Regions from separate parts of the Homo sapiens genome. Here region 1 is linked to region 2. The links are contacts of gene promoters, found by promoter capture Hi-C in blood cells and fetal thymus (Javierre and others, 2016). All regions are on one chromosome and are shown on one strand. Each heading gives the region's core, a stretch centred on a gene start or on the middle of the fragment in contact. The rest is flanking DNA. Distances are from core to core; before and after follow the strand shown.

What was found. Contacts are between HindIII fragments. The CHiCAGO score rates a contact against its expected background, and 5 or more counts as called.
Region 1: a contact is called between a fragment that was not itself captured here and the fragment with the promoter of SACS in region 2, in 1 of 17 cell types (total B cells). The highest score is 5.3, in total B cells.

The regions. Positions count from the first base shown.
Region 1 is chr13:24,224,710-24,227,801 of GRCh38, forward strand. The region is part of intron 2 of SPATA13 (spermatogenesis associated 13); the gene reads left to right. Among named protein-coding and RNA genes, the nearest start is that of SPATA13-AS1, 28 kb to the right of the region's middle. RefSeq lists an enhancer at 265-1,121. The HindIII fragment of the contact is 5,204 bases long and covers 1-3,092 here.
Region 2 is chr13:23,432,348-23,435,690 of GRCh38, forward strand. It overlaps SACS (sacsin molecular chaperone), which reads right to left and starts at 1,355. Exons shown (of 10, transcript NM_014363.6): 1 at 1,268-1,355. RefSeq lists an enhancer at 607-1,174. The HindIII fragment of the contact is 4,074 bases long and covers 1-2,022 here.

The sequences.
Region 1 (3,092 bases), core at 468-2,967, 790 kb after region 2:
TATTAGTGGGAATGGGAGTTGTCAAGTTGCTGTTTACCAAGTTCAGAAGTAATCTCTATCTCCTTTGAAATAAATTGACAATGTACGAGATTCATTGAGATGACATTTGCCACACCTTTCATTCAAAAGATGTTTATTGAACATGTACCAGGTACTAGATTCTGGGGGAAAAAAATAAGTTGTAAACAAACTGTCTTCTGCTCCATGCAGCTCTGACTCATATCTTTCTTCTTTGTATTTTAAGCTGTTTCTGTAACCTTTCCCACAAAGTACATATAAGTGAAATTCTTTCTGTTAAGAGACTATTACCTGTCCTAATGTCACAGCACCTGTGGGTGTCACTTGACCAGCTGGAAACCTCTGTGGGCTGGCAGTGCCTCTGCTTGAGTTTTGCTCGTGCCCACTAGCCTCGTTCCACCCATTCTGCCCAGCAGGCTGCATTCGGCTTGCACTGCCAGCCCAGATCCCATGCCTGCCAAGGGCAAACCAGGAATGGAGCAGCGAGGGGTGTGTGAGTGAGTGAGCATGGAGTCCAGCCTCTGCACACAGCCAGGCATGTCAGCTGTTGCAGCAGGGCAGGCAGCTCCAGGTGCCGGCACAGGTGCTGGCTCCATGCAAGGCTGTGGCTGGACCAGATGCACTGTAGCTGGCTTCCGCTGCAGGCACCAGCGTGTGGACGAGGGGAACGTGGTGACGAGTGAAAGCTCAGAGATACCAGGAATCACAGAGCCCCAAAGAGGGTGTTACGGCCTGTCACAGCCTGGTTCTCATCTGGGCTCCCAGAAGGGCCACAGCTCTCTTCTTCTCATCACCTGCATTACAGCAAGCAGGGGGGCTTGTTTCTGGGAGTATGTTTCACCCCATTTGTGTTATATCTCCTTCAGTCCCACTGCCCCACTCCAGCATGCAGCTCTTGGGCTGGTCTAGCCCCACCACTGCTTCCTGTTGCATGTTGCAGCTGCCTGGTGCTGGTGGAAATTGGGAGGGTTATAGTGTTACAACTTTAGTTGAGGGAATCCCAAGGTTTGGGCCCCCAGAAGGGTTGCCACTCTTCACGCCTGCAGTCCAGGGGCATGTCACTGTCTGTAGCTCGGTGAGCTGGCCAGGAATTTGTTGCAGCCCCTTTAACTCCCACCTGCAGCTGGGCGAGCCATCCGGGAAAGTGTTACAGCTCCTTTCGCTCCCACCATTGGGCAGGTTCCACATCCAGGAAAAATGAAGTTACGTGGACAAACGGAGGGTGAGCAAGGCTGAGAAGAGCTTTATTGGGTGACTGAACAACTCTCAGCCCATAGGAGACCTGGAATGTGTTGCTCCTCTCTGCAGGCAGGTAGTCCCAATGAGTGGCGGAGTCTGGGGGTTTTTATAGGCTCAGAATGGAGGAAGTGCATGCTGATTGGTCCATGGGCAGGCCTGGAAAAAGCACCATTTGATTGGTTGAAAGGCATCAAGGAAGTTCTCACTCCAGGTCGCTGACTTCACACGAAATTGGCATCTGTGCCCTGAGGCTTCAGGCTGTCCCTGGCTTGAAGGTGGGGTTTCACTGCGGACCCGCCCCTTCCCACCTAGGTACCTGTCCACCTCCCACCACCATCACTAAGTCTGTTTAATTTCCTAGGAATGAATTAGGAACATGCAGTTTGGTACCTGTCGGCCTTTGAATGATGCTTGTTTAAAGAGATTTTTATGATGGGTTATTGTACTTATTTTAGAGTAGATCATAAGCACCTCATTAATTGACTAAGCTAATAGCTGTCAAGGTTACAACAGCAGTTTTTTTCATATTCTATCAAACATCTTTATAATTTTCACTTTATAAACACTGAGTAATATTACCTTACATAGCTGGAAGATGGGGAAATGCATTCATGTGTATATATTGCAGATTATTCTTCACATACATTTCTAGATTGATTTGCAGGTATAGATGGTGCTTGCCATAGAGAATAATCCCCTAGCAAATGCTCCTTCCCACCCATCCCTGGGGAGGACCTCAGTTTTGTCTTAGCACCTACAGATGAATGATTGCACAGCAAGTTTGCAGACTCAGAAGCCAGGACAGCCTCTGCACTGTCCATCTTGACCTTTGCTGTACAGACAGACCTGGTTAGTAGAACCTTTGTAGAAAGACCTAGAAAGTAGGACTATCGCAGAGTACTTTCAGATTGAGATTAGTCTCAAGGTCCCCTGGGCAGCCAGAGAAGTGAGACTGCATATTGTCTGTTACCTGAGGTTCCCGTGGAGAGCTCACCAGTTTGAGAGGTCTTGACTATTGAGAACCGTCTGCTCATTTGCATATTTGAGCCTGTGGAGCAGTTGTAAGGACACAGGAGTAGTTACCAGACTTAGGAAGGAGTTCCAGTTCTGTTGGCTCCTGTTTGTACAACTGACCAAACTTCACTAATTCCTGGGTGAGATGAAGGATGAAGGGTAACATTCCTTCCACTAAACACCCTACCTGCGCCACTCGTAGTTTGTAACCTCCCCTCCCTAAAAAAGGATTTGTATATGTCTGGAGGGTTTTTTTATGTTAAAGATTGGATTTTATTTTCTGCTTAACAGAATTATTTTTTTAAAAATCATTGAAATATTTTATTCCTGAGAACCTGTTAAGTGAATATATATGAACTAGTGTGTAGTTATTTGCCAGGGTGATTTTGACCATTTTATGGTTTTATATGTATATTTGCTATTGTTAGTTATATCAAATTTAATTTCTACCCACAAAAGATCACCAAAGATAGAAAGCAGAACAACAATTATATTGAAATTCAGTTTATTAAAGGTGCGTGCACATGTTGATAATTCTACGAATTTGCCTCCAGATATTCATCACATTTTTCAGTTGCAGTCATTTCTTCAAAATTCTTTTTTTTTTATTGAGACAGTCTCATTCAGTTACCCAGGCTGGAATGCAGTGGTGCGATCTTGGCTCACTGCAACCTTTGCCTCACAAGTTTAAGCAGTTCTCATGTCTCAGCCTCCCAAGTAGCTGAGATTACAAGCGTGTACTAACATGCCAGCTTAATTTTTGTATTTTTAGTAGAGACAGGGTTTTGCCGTGTTGGTCAGGTGGTCTCAAACTCCTGGCC
Region 2 (3,343 bases), core at 105-2,604:
AGGGAGACTGAAGGAGTCTTTAAGATCCAAGGAGAAAAGAAAGAAAAAATTGCCCAAACAGCCCAGGAAGGAGAAGAAAGGATGAAAGGGACGGCTAAGGAGGATAGAGGAAAGGAAACTGGGGATCGTTGTCACAGCCCAAAGTGAGGCTTCAGGGCAAGATTAGGGAAGGCAGTCTGGATGGTCATAAGTAAAACTACTGGGACATCATGACCCTGCATTAACGTAGAATGAGTCTGGTTATCAATGGGCAGCTTAAGAAAAACAGAATGGCAAATCTACTTGTCATGTGACAAATAAAATGGGATTGTCAATTATTTATTATTATTATTATTATTTTCATCCATGACCTGTGAATCAATTACTTTTATCTGCACTGATGGAGAAATGAAGAGTTCCCCTTCAAAATAACTTCAGAGCAGCTTGCGCTTGGGAAGCACGTGGATTCAACCTGGCTTCTGCCTTTTACTTAAGCGGAATGGGCTTTATCCATCTTCAGGGGCAGAGAGAATTAAGATTAAAGCCAAAACAATTGATATGTTTTAATAGAAACAAATCCAGTCCTCTTCTCTGAGGTATTGACCTCGTTTTAAGGAAGAAAAAAAGACAGCGAGAGAGAGGTTTTGTTGCTAAAGCTGGAATACTCTTTCAAAGAATCTAATGATCGCTTATTAGAATAAAATTAAATATGTGAAATATTTTTTAACTAAAAGCAGGATTTTCAAATATTATATAAGATAACCATAACATATGGCATTGTTTGAAGGCATGCTGTTTAAAGTGAGAGCAATTCTGCAAATTAACCGTAAGCTACTTTGAGAATCCCATCTTATTGTTCAATAAGACTCTGGACCCCACGCTGTGTTACTGCAACAGCTCCATTGTGGCGGTGCCTGGCAACCCGGGTGGAAATTAAAATGACAAAGCGGCTAGTCCAGCATCTTGACCGCGGCAGATCTCTCTAGTCACCCTGCAGCCGCTCCTCACCCACAAATTCACAAGCAGCCAACCCAAACTGTACATTTTCAGAAGAGCTCATTACTCACAGCTGTACAGCACGCTGAAGGCCCTCTCGTCTCTGTCCTCTCCGAAGGCGGGTATGTTAAAGGAAAGTGGCCCCTTACCTCCCCCAAGCAGCTGCAGTGGCCGAGCCCTGGTTTCCCAAGGCTCAGGGGACGGATGGCCAACAACACCATGGAGCCTGCCCGTCCCCAGGCCGCTCCTGCAGCTGCCCTCGCTGGCCACCCAGCTGGAACCTTGGACTTACTGGGGGCTGTGGGCATCAGGGTCTCTCGGCCTTTGTTTTCCTCCAGTGCCATCAGCAGTTCCCAGCGTGACTGTCCCGCAGCCGCACTGGGTCCAGGCGGCTCCTGCCGCAGTCAGTCGCTCCCCCTACCCAGCAGCCTTTTTTTTTCTTCTTAAAGAGACAGGACTGTCATCAACCTTAGGTGTCAATAATGCTGCAAGTGCAGCATTGTCGTTCATTGTGGGGGTGACAACCAACCACACGTTTTTGTTCTCTTCACTTGCAAAGGCTAATTTTTAGCAGTAGGTATGGCTAACAGAAGACTGGCTCTATTAAACACCAGTTGTGTGACCTTAGACAAGTCACTCATGGGTCTCGAGTACCTCATGGGAAATGAAGACCTGTGACCTGGTAATGTTGTAGCTCACAATCTGCTTTTTGTATGTTATTTGGAGTTGTTTATGAGGTTCCAATGGTTAAAAAAAAAAGCATTCACTCAAAATGTGTGGTAAACTGTGAAATGCTATACAATTGATCCTGTTCTAAGTTGAAATTGCTAGTCTCAATTTAATAATACAAAATATTGTAACTCTATTTTCTTGCTTCCTCTGATGGGGTATGTGAAATACCACCAGCATTTATTTCATTTCGGCGCACAGCTATCCTGCCACTGGCCTGGGTACATCATATTCCTCATGATAGTCTCCTAGTAGAACTGCCTGCTTTATCCATATAAATCTAGAATTTTGGCTTATCTGGAAATACTGGATCTCGGAAGCTTCTTATTGCTTCGTTCCTGCGGAAAATTCCTCTTAAGTCAGTTCAAACAACTCCAGACCTGAAAAGGCTCAAATGATCTCTCCTGGGAGAAGACCAAAGCAAGCCCCAAATGTCAGCAGCAACTGGGGAAGGAGAGCCCCTGCTTCTTGTACCTGGCCCTGCACTGGTCTGACCCAGAAGATGCCACATCTAATGGTGTCTCCTTCACATCCTAGACTCACAGATTTGTGTACATATTATTTCCTGGGAGATAGGTGGGAGACCTGTTCTAACAAAAGGACTGAATAATCACAAACAAAGCACATTTCTATTGGGGAGAAATGGTGTCTTGCAGGGCCTTTTCATTGAGCTCTCACTGTAGCACCGTGTGGACCAACAGGCCCTCGGTGGCATGCGCCTGTGGAGTGAGGCTGCCTCTCTGAGGCTACCACCATTCTTACATGGTTCAGTTGTAATCAGTTTAATTCAGCACACAAATATTGAGCCCTTGCTTGTTCCTGGCATCAGCTAGACACCGTAGACTAAACGGTGAATACCCAGTATGTTGCTCCCCCAGCAGGCTCTTCTACTCACAGCTGTAAACCATTACACCCCCAAAGGGAAAAGTTATAAATAACTACATATATATAAACTATATATATAATATATATGTATAGTTTTCAGAGAGGTTAGACGATTTTGCCTACCTACTCACACTACATAAAAGTATCCAGTGAAATATTGATTATTCAGAAATAGTGTTGCTTAGCCAGGTGTGGTGGTACATGCCTGTAGTCCTAGCAACTCAGGAGGCTGAGGAAGGAGGATTGCTTGAGGCCGGGAGTTTGAGACCAGCCTGAGCAACATAGCAAGACCTCAGGTTGGGCGCAATGGCTCACGCCTGTAATCCCAACACTTTGGGAGGCCGAGGTGGGTGGATCACTTGAGGCCAGGAGTTCAAGACCAGCCTGGCCAACATGATGAAACCCCATCTCTACTAAAAATACAAAAATTAGCTGGGTGCAGTGGTGTGCACCTGTAATCTCAGATACTTGGAGGCTAAGGCAGGAGAATTGCTTGCACCTGGGAGGCAGAGGTTGCAGTGAGCTGAGATTGTGCCACTGCACTCCAACCTAAACAACAGAGTGAGACCCTGTCCCAAAAAAACAAAAACAAACATAGCAAGACTTCATCTCTACAAAAATTAAAAAATTAAGCAGGCATTGGTCGTGCATGCCTGCAGTCCTAGCTACTCGGGAGACTGAGGTGGGAGGATCACTTGAGCCCAGGAGTTTAAGGTTACAGTGAGCTATGATTGCACCACTGCACACCAGCCTG